Regions from separate parts of the Homo sapiens genome. Here all the other regions are linked to region 2. Evidence: promoter capture Hi-C in 16 types of primary human blood cells and fetal thymus (Javierre and others, 2016). All regions are on one chromosome and are shown on one strand. The core of a region is centred on a gene start or on the middle of the fragment in contact, and the rest is flanking DNA. Distances in the headings are between cores, read along the strand shown.

Region 1 (2,810 bases), core at 263-2,762, 4.0 Mb after region 2:
TTGGCATTCACAACTGTGCGATTTGTAAGTGTGAAGTAGTTAATGCCCAAGGGCATTAACCTTCGATCAAAGAGGACAGGAGCCGACATACAAATGCTTCCTCCGTTCTTTCCTTTAATGGACAGTTCTGAGACTCATTTCATAAAGCTTCTTAGAAGGTCCTAAGGGACTAAGAAAACATTCAAATATGGTGATGACCAACTCAGTAACACATTCTTATACTGCATCTCCCTTTTTGTTTTGTCTTCTTCCTCTTCCCTCATTTTGCTCCCTGGGATCAAATTTCCAAATAAACTATTGCATATAAGTGTCACTTTGCAGGGAATCCAAGAGGAGAGAGGATAATTTAATTTTTGGACACACAAGTTTGAGGTGTCTATAAGACATCCAAGTGGAAATGTCAGGCGATGGGCAGTATATACACAAATCTTGAGGTTCAAGAAAGAGATCTAGGCTTCTGAAATGCAATTCATTTCCCAACTTTGAGGAGGGCTATAAACATACAGGTAAATAAAAGAAAGATAATAGGACCAAAAAACACATGCAATTGTCATAGAGTGTCCACAGTAAGCATTCCGGTGCCAAGCAGGAAAGGGTCTTTGTAAAGATATAACCAGATCCTGCTCTTAAAAGGGAAGTCATTTGATGAAAGTGAAAAGTATTCTAACTACTGTTTGCTCATTTAAATTTCTAGCACATTTATCTGATCTGTACCTCTCTTTGGTCACTTATTTTGTGTCCTATTTTATATATATTTGTACCTACACCTTGTCTAGTCCTACCACACTGTGAACTCCTTTAGGTTAAGATTCATGCCTGAATCACCTCTGTACCTGGAATCAAAGTGCCTAGCATTAAAAAAAAAAGGTGCCAGGAATATTGAATAAATAAAACACCTACCTGCAACCAGCAACATTGGCATCATTTATGCATCCCAAACTTAAATATGCATAAGCATCATCTTGCTAAGATGCAGATTCTGATTCAGTAGATCTGAAGTGAGCCAGAGAGGCTGCATTTCCTAAAAAGCCCCCAGATGATACCCAAGCAGCTGATCCACGGACCACACTTTGAGTATCAAGGTCATGAGGACAATGGTTCTTGACCTTAGCTGCATATGAGAATCATCTGGGAAGATATTAAAAGTACTGATGTCTGGGTCCCACCCGCAGGGATTCTGATTTAACTCATTTAAGCTCTCCAAAGTTTAAGTAGCAAAGATCTAGAGTTAATAGAGCTTTACGTATGAAAAAAGAAAACATTTAATCGAATTTCTTCTTAAATGAATTGCTGCAAATATCTGAATAAATAACTCTTAATCCCCAACTCCCAAGTCAGTTTCTGTGCCACAAAGGCCCCGCCCCTGCCCTTCCCTGACACGCCCCTCCAATGAGGCCTTGTTCCGCCTGGCCACGCCCGTCGGTTGGCGCCCCGCCCCTCCGCGTCTATTGGCCGCTCCCTTTTTCTCCCATCGCTGCTTCTTCCTTCTCTACGCGGTCAACTTCCGGCGCGGAGTTTGTCACGTGCCCGGATATAGGAAGTGTTGGGGGAACGGCCGCTTCCCGTTCAACGCTTTATTGAGGGGCGTATCCTAGTGGCCCCCATCCGGTCTCCGTTTTGGAAGACCCGCCTCGGCACAGCCAGGCTCAGTCCGGCCTTGCGGTAAGCCTTCGGCCGCGGCTGCCCGGTAGTCCCGGCGGCGGCGGACAGACGAGCTGACAGGCACCAGGGTCTAAGGCGGCTCCTCAGTCCGGCTGCTGTCTCCACGCCTGGGGTCGGGCACCGCTCCTTCTGACCTTCCTTTCCCCGTTTGTCCCGGTAAGACGAAGTTTGGTCAGAGCATTCTCCAGTCCCTTGTCCTCGGGTCTAGGAGAATGCGGAGCTGGGAGGGCAGTCCTCACGGGCCCCATTACGGTTCCGCCCATCGGAACCAGATTTTGTTTGTGCAAAATGACCCTGATCGTAAGCTCTTTGGCGTGGTCCAGGAGAGGAGAGCGTGACTGTGCCTTCCTCTTTGTCCAAATTCACATCCCGGCCCCCCAACCCCAACTCCCCCCCACCCCCCGCCAAATCTCTTAAGTGTATTTCTCTATTTCCTTGCACAGTTATATCTTCTAGATGGCAATGCTTCATGCATTAATATATCTCAGCAGCATACAGGGCCCAATGCACACGGGCACTCACACTGACAGGCTATTTGTCACACAGTGTGGTGGTCCAACTGAGCTGAAGGAAACAACCAGTACAGAGTAAGCAGTGGATGGCTGCCTTTGGAACGTGGTCAGATATGGGTTCTCAGACCTGGAGAATAATTTTAGAGGACCTCTAGGGATTTATTTACTGACTTTCAGAAAAGTACCGTAAAGACTGAAGAGTTAATCACTCGACTCTTAGGATGTAAATGCCATAGAAACACCCGGCTTCAGGTCTTCATAAACATATCTGTCATGTTGACTACTGTAACCTAGAATAGTGTCTGCCACCTAATAAGCATGAGTATTTGCTGAATGAATGAAGAGTCACATACTGCTTTTCATTATGGCTAACTCCTTTATGAGGTATGCCCAATCCTGTCTTGTTTTGCCTCTTACTGTACACTCAGTTGCTTTTAGCCAGAGAAGGAGTATGTGGTAAACGTTGGTCCCTATTATTCATTTGACCAGTTTTTACTATTCAGTTCTAATTACCTTAATAGATATTTAAGTATCCACTAAACACAAAACTATGATGAACATCCCTCCCTTCTTTAAGAGAATTCTTGAGATAGAGAAGCTTATGATTTAATGAGCCCATTAGACGGCAAATGCAGT
Region 2 (2,988 bases), core at 182-2,681:
CTGGTTTGTCTGAGCCCCTTCCAAATAGCATAACATTTGTGTCCTGATTTAAAATCTAAATTTCAGAGCCTGGAAACCCAAAAGCCTGGGCTGTAGAAATCTAAAACCAAAAAGACCGTGCGTTCTGTTACCTGTGATTTGTGGTGTCACCTACTCTTTGAGGCTCCCAGATGGCCCAGGGCCTTAGGATATGGGGATGCCTTGTAGGTGTGTTGTTGTTGGAGTTGGTGGCTGGGATGAGGGTGGAGGCAGGGTAGGGTGGGGGTGGGTTGGGGTGGGGGGAATCCTCCGTTAATATCTCGAAATATTGTTCTGTTACCATAATGCGGTGTGATAAGTTAGCTTCAAGTATTGAAAAATCAGGGCAGGACTCATGGAAATGGTGCGAATTCTTGACTTAGGGTCAGAAGAATTCACCAAAATTAACGTCTCCCTCTGCCAAATAACAGCCAGTTTCAATTTCTGGACGGCCTCTCCGCGGGAGTGACAGGTTTTCTTAGATGCCGCCGGGGGTCTTTCACGGGCTGGTGGTCTGCCCCCTGGACTCGTCCATGTGTTAGGCTCAGTCCGCAGCTCAGAGCGCGGCCCTGTATTTCTGTCTGATGTCTGGGGCATACAGATGTGTGTGACGGACAATGCTCGTGGCATTCGAAGCCTCTTTAACAGACATTAGTGACTAGAGGAAAGAAGTGTGCGAACTCTGCGAAACAAGTATGCGGACTCTGGAAAAGAAGTACATTTCGAAAGTGGGGAGAGGATGGATCTTCGTAGGAGAAATGGAAATTTGCTCCCCACCAGAAGGTTTGCTGGAAATTAAGACGCGGCAATTCTTAATCCAGTTTCCTGCGGTAGGAAGCAGCTGACAAGAGAAGTCCCAGTCCGAGTTCGGCGCGAACTGGACAAGTGTCGTGGGACAAGTGGCGGGAGACCCGGCCGCGTCGCGCCGGGCGCTAGGGACGGACGCATTTCCCTACTTCCAGCAGCTGGTACGAGCCGCCCCCAACTGCGCTGCGCTGCTCTATTCTTTGGGAAACACTTCGCGTGCTTTGTTTCAGACGCCGACCCATCTTTCTTGGTGGGTCTCCAGCTCCACCAATCCCGCCCGCCACTGGGCGGGGTTTCAGGGTCAAGGTGGACCAATTTCCCAGCTTCGCCCCTACACGCGCTCTCGGACCCCTGGGGGTGACTGACAGCAGCCGGGCCCAACCCGCTGCTCCGGAGCATGGCCTCCGCCAGGGGCGTTACGGAGACAAGGCCCCAGGACCAATCGTATTGGCCAGTGGGGGGCGGGGCCTCGTTGCCAGCTCCAGACCGGCGCTATGGGCACTCCTTTTGTCAAATGAGAGACGCAGCAGGGCGGCCCCTGAGCCGCGGTTTAGCCAATGGAGAAGGCGAGATGGGCGGGCTGGGAGTGCCCGGCGGCGGGTCCTCAGCTTCGAGCCGAGGTGCAGTGAGCTGGTGGGGGGACCGCGAGGCGAGCGCGGGAGCCTGGGCGGCGAGCCGGGTGTGAGCTGCCTGAAAATGCACTCGGATGCCGCCGCTGTCAGTGAGTAGCAGAGAGCCAGCCAGCGGGCCGGGGCCGGGCGGCTGCCAAACTCGCCACTCGGCTCCCGCAGTCCCCGCCCCACGCCTCGGGTCCCGAAACGCGCCGGGAGCCCCTGCCTGGGAACCACCCCTTCCCCTCCCGGGGCCGGGGCGGGCGGTGACGCTGCGGGCGGCGTGGGGCGGGGGCGGGCGTGGGGGGAAGGGACCGGCCTGCGGGGAGGGCGGAGGTGAGGGGGGTGGGGACTGGCTCTCTTTCAGTGTTGGGGGAAGGGAGGGCTGGACGTGCGATGAAGGGCCGAGATCGGAGTGTCCGGGGTGCATGGAGGTGGAGGCAGCGTTGGGCTGTAGCGGGCAGGGCCGGGGATGTGGGGGGGTGGCACCGGCGGGGAGAGGGAGGGAGCGAGCGAGCGAGCGGGGCACAAGGGTGAGGATTTCCAAAGGGCTGAGTGGTGCGGGCGGCTCCGTGAGAAAGGCGGGTGAGTGCGAGGGGGGCGCGGGGGCGGGGACAATGGGAAGAAGGGCTGGTTGGCGGGGGGGTGGGGGGGGGGCGGCGAACAATGGGGTGGGGGAATGGGGGCAGCGGCCGAGCGGGGCAGGAGGGCGGGCGACTGGACGAGGGCTGATGTAACGGGAAAGCGAGGTGGTGGGAGGGACTGGGGTGTAATGGTAGTTGGGGAGTCCTGCGGGGCGGGAGGGGCGTTGGAAGGGCGGTGGGTAACGGAGAGTGGTGGGAGTGGAAGATGTTGGGGTAAAGAGATGGGGCAGGTGTGGAAGGGTAGGGCGATTGGGAGGAAGAGGAGAAAAAGGTGGGTAGGATTTGGGGTGGCAGAGTGGGGGCAGGGGTGGAGAATATGAAATGGGGGTGAGGAGCTAGTCGGGGAGGAAGGGGAGGTGGGGCGGAGTTGGGCAGGAGGACTGTCACGTCCAGATTCGGTCCGGAGCCGGGCTAAGGGGGTGTCAGACTGTGCTTAGGGGAGGTACTTCCTCTCCCTGTCGAGGCAGGGTCCCTTGAAGGGGGGAGTCCAAGCTTCGGGGTGCGGAGAGAGGAGGGGGCGGGGCTGAGGTGGAGGAGACGGGGTAAGTGCCCTAAGGTTGGAACTGGCCGTGGTTCCCCCCGGACGGCGGGAAGCGAGGTCAGCGCTGGCGCGGGCTCCGGCAGCGGGACTAGGAGGCGGGGCAGGGGTGCGGGCTGCGGGGTTTCAGCAGCGGGAGCCGGAGGGGTCGGGCCCTGATGGCCGGGTCGGGGGCTTGGCGCCGGGGAGGTGTCGGGGTCCCTGGCAGTCCGTGGGTTTGATAGTCTGTGACGCAGTTGTCTAATTTCTGGCTATCAGGTGTGGGGGTTGGTGCCATGGAACCCGCTTCCTTAGAGGGATGGCCGGGCCCTAGGCCGCGCCCCACGCCCGGGGGGCGCGACTTCTCCCAGGCGTGCTGGGAGGGCGCTTG
Region 3 (3,076 bases), core at 244-2,743, 4.1 Mb after region 2:
TGCAAGGCCACCAGCTAAGCAAAGCCAAAAGTTATGCAAATTTCAGCAGTTATGCTATAGATTACAAAACCTGTCACTGTGTGATTTACTGCCTTGGTTCTGCTTTTTTAATTTAGCCTATATAAGCCAAGCTCTGTCTTTGTTCAGGGCTCAGCTTTTTGGATGCAAATCCACGGAGCCAGTGCACACCTTAATAAAATCCTCCTGCTCCACCCATTGGTCTTTCTGGTCCTCTGCTTTCCCGCAACAATGGGAGTCTTCAAGCGGCCAGTGCCTTTTTCGTTCTTAACTGCCCAATCCGTGCCAGCAGAAGGCAGCTTTAAACCAAAGTGAAAGAGCTGAAGCAAAAAAGAAAGAAAATAAAAAGTCCCAGTTCTTCTGGGCTTACCTCCTGGCTGGCTCACCAAAATATGTTACCAGATTGGAAGTTGGGAGTTCCAGGTTCTTGGTGTTATGAACAAAGAATTGGATGAGACACACAAATAACCACCCCACAAGATTTATTAAGCAAAGAATATACCAGAGAGAGGAACGGGCTTATCTTCAAGTGGTGTCAGCCCTGGATTAATATAGCCTTTGTTCTTTTATACCCACTTCCTACACTTCTTTAACTCTAGGGAGGGGATTTCCTATAATTGTCATATCTGTTTTCTTGTTTTTTCTCTCTTAGTGCGCCTGCGTGAGCTTGCCATAATTTTAAGTGTATGTATGATAGGCATTCCATAGGTATGAGCTGGTCAGTCTTCTGACTTCCTTCCCTATTCTGCTGCCTCAGAAGGCCTATTTGGGAGAAAAGTAAACAGGAAAGAATGAAACTCCCTCTGACTGTCTGGGAAATTTTCAGGGGAGAAATGGAATTCTAGGATTTTACTATGTGTTTTCCATCTGTGAGTGGACTATAACGGTTTATTTCAATTTAATTCCACTCACAAATGTTTTGCTGAGTAGAATAGTCTCTGACTCAAGGAATTCACATTTGGGGGCGGCAGAGAGAGACGGATCAACAAATGATTGTATTTTGATGGATGAATTCTATGGTTCTACAGAGAGCCTGCGGGAGATACTATTGTGGGATAATTAATTGCATTGGGTGGTTGTCAGGGAAAGTTGCAGAGACAACGTGATATCTGCGTTTGGGGATTACGTGGTGAGCAGGCGTTCACCTTGCAGGTGAAGGCTACTCCGCTGCAGGGACCGGTACTGGGGCGGCGTTTGTTCCCCGCACGCAGTAGGTGATCCACACCTCCCGCCGACAGGAGGAAGAGGATGCCAGCTCAGGCACCAGCTGAGGTTTGGCATTTGCTGGCCGCGGGCGCCGACCTCCAGGGGGCGCCGTGGCCTCGCGCTGTCCGGGCCGTTGCATTTCCGGGCACTGGGGCTCCGCCATCGTCGCCAAGCGCGTCCCCGCCGCGAGCCGCTAATCGTCCGCCGCTCCCGTTACCGGGGCAACCGCGGCGCCTCCTCCGTGTCGGCCCCGATCGTCCCTCCGCGCCATTTTCAAACTGCTCTAGCGCCGGAGCCCGTGCCTGGACGGAAGGAGCTAGTGGGGGACTCGAGGCCTGAGGGCAATGCGGCTGGAGGCGGAGGCAACGGCGGCTGGAGCTGCCGGTGAGTCCGGATGTGGGAGCCAGAGGGCCAGCTGCGGCGGTGGTGGCGCCTTCGCCTTCTGGGCGGTACCCGCGGGCCGGGCTCGGGCACTGCCGGGAGGCCGCGCGGCCGCGGGAGGAAGTGAGGCCAGGCCGGGTCAGACCGGGCGGGGAGGGGCGCGGGGACTCTTCCCACCCACCCCGCTCCCACACCCCCTTCCCGTCAACACCCGACGGTAAAGTTGCAAACCGGAGATTGGGTGGAGGAGAGCTTGGGCCGACTCGTCAAGGAGCGTCTGTGTGGGCCGTGCAGACAGGCTTGCTGTTGACCAATGGATAGATTTAAACATTAAAATGCCTTCTCAGTGTAGCAGTCATCCATGCTCTTTGTAACAAAAATGTCGCAAAGCGTAGGACGACAGCCTTTAATTAACCTTTGCCCAGCTCCTTTGAAGCCTCTCCACTGCTTTCCAGCCTTTACTACTTTGAGTTCAATAAGAAAGGACTCTGAGATAACCACAGCTAACGGGTTTCTTTGTTGTCGTTTGGGGTTTCTTGTTTATCTTCTTAAGCCCTGTGCACACATACATACAGCATTAAATGTACTGGTTTTGAGACGCCAACCCCCAGAGTTAAGTAGATGGATACTTCTACACATATATGTATGGGGGACCCCCAAACCTAACCTTTTATGTTGCTTTGCTAGAAACTTAGAGTATAGCCACCATATTTGGATGGGGGTTATGGGGAAAGACAACAGTTCATGGGTGGGGACGGCCTAACATGTTTCTATCTGGGAGGATTTTAATCCGTCCTGTGTATTGAGGCCCTGGCCATGATTTATTGATTCATATTCATTCTCATTCTCTCCCCTCCAAAGCAGGATGTGAGGAGGTATTATCTCTGGGTAACTGGAGTTGGTAGCAAAGAGGGGAAATGTTTTGAGTGGTGCACCGCCTGTAAGTTTACACCCTGCTAGTAATACACCTGGATTTGTCAGGTGTATTTCTGATGTCTGCAGGAATTTCCCTAAAAACCCTGCATCACTTAGGTGTCTCTTGTGGAAAGAACCTAGGAAATCTATGAGGAAGCCATTCAAAAAAAGTTAACAAGAGCAAAGAGAAAGATATACAGAAAGGAGTGACCAAGGAGAGACTCAGGAGACCTGGTCTCTGATGACTGCCCACCTACTTTGTGGCCCCGTGGTTTTGGAAGAGTTACTTTCTTGAGGCAGCCTTTCCTCATGTTTAAGTAGGGATAATATCATTGGTCTTTCTCCCTCACAGGGTAGCTGTGAGGATCGACTTTTACATGTATGCTCATGCATGTAATGCATTTTTTATATATTGTGAAGAACAACAGATGTAAAACAAAATTTTTATTTGGCTTAGAAATACGAGTACCATGACTACAGTTAGTTAGCAAAGGTTAGAAAAGAGCAGAGTTTCTAAAGAAATGATCTTTGGGCTGAGCATATTGGCTCACACCTG

The links. Contacts are between HindIII fragments. The CHiCAGO score rates a contact against its expected background, and 5 or more counts as called.
Region 1: a contact is called between the fragment with the promoter of EXOC1 here and the fragment with the promoter of DCUN1D4 in region 2, in 4 of 17 cell types (naive CD4 T cells, non-activated CD4 T cells, total CD4 T cells and 1 more). The highest score is 6.3, in naive CD4 T cells.
Region 3: a contact is called between the fragment with the promoter of CEP135 here and the fragment with the promoter of DCUN1D4 in region 2, in 1 of 17 cell types (total B cells). The highest score is 6.2, in total B cells.

What each region holds. Positions count from the first base shown.
Region 1 is chr4:55,852,136-55,854,945 of GRCh38, forward strand. It overlaps EXOC1 (exocyst complex component 1), which reads left to right and starts at 1,513. Exons shown (of 19, transcript NM_001024924.2): 1 at 1,513-1,818. RefSeq lists a silencer at 1,305-1,404. The HindIII fragment of the contact is 2,625 bases long and covers 146-2,770 here.
Region 2 is chr4:51,841,722-51,844,709 of GRCh38, forward strand. It overlaps DCUN1D4 (defective in cullin neddylation 1 domain containing 4), which reads left to right and starts at 1,432. Exons shown (of 11, transcript NM_001040402.3): 1 at 1,432-1,546. The coding sequence starts at 1,522. RefSeq lists silencers at 1,160-1,309, 1,320-1,369, 1,460-1,809, 1,910-1,989, 2,540-2,659. The HindIII fragment of the contact is 3,870 bases long and covers 1-2,570 here.
Region 3 is chr4:55,947,452-55,950,527 of GRCh38, forward strand. It overlaps CEP135 (centrosomal protein 135), which reads left to right and starts at 1,494. Exons shown (of 26, transcript NM_025009.5): 1 at 1,494-1,608. EXOC1-AS1 (EXOC1 antisense RNA 1) reads right to left here and starts at 561. Exons shown (of 5, transcript XR_941069.4): 1 at 389-561. RefSeq lists enhancers at 303-452, 1,071-2,035 and silencers at 1,250-1,389, 1,440-1,899. The HindIII fragment of the contact is 6,740 bases long and covers 1-3,076 here.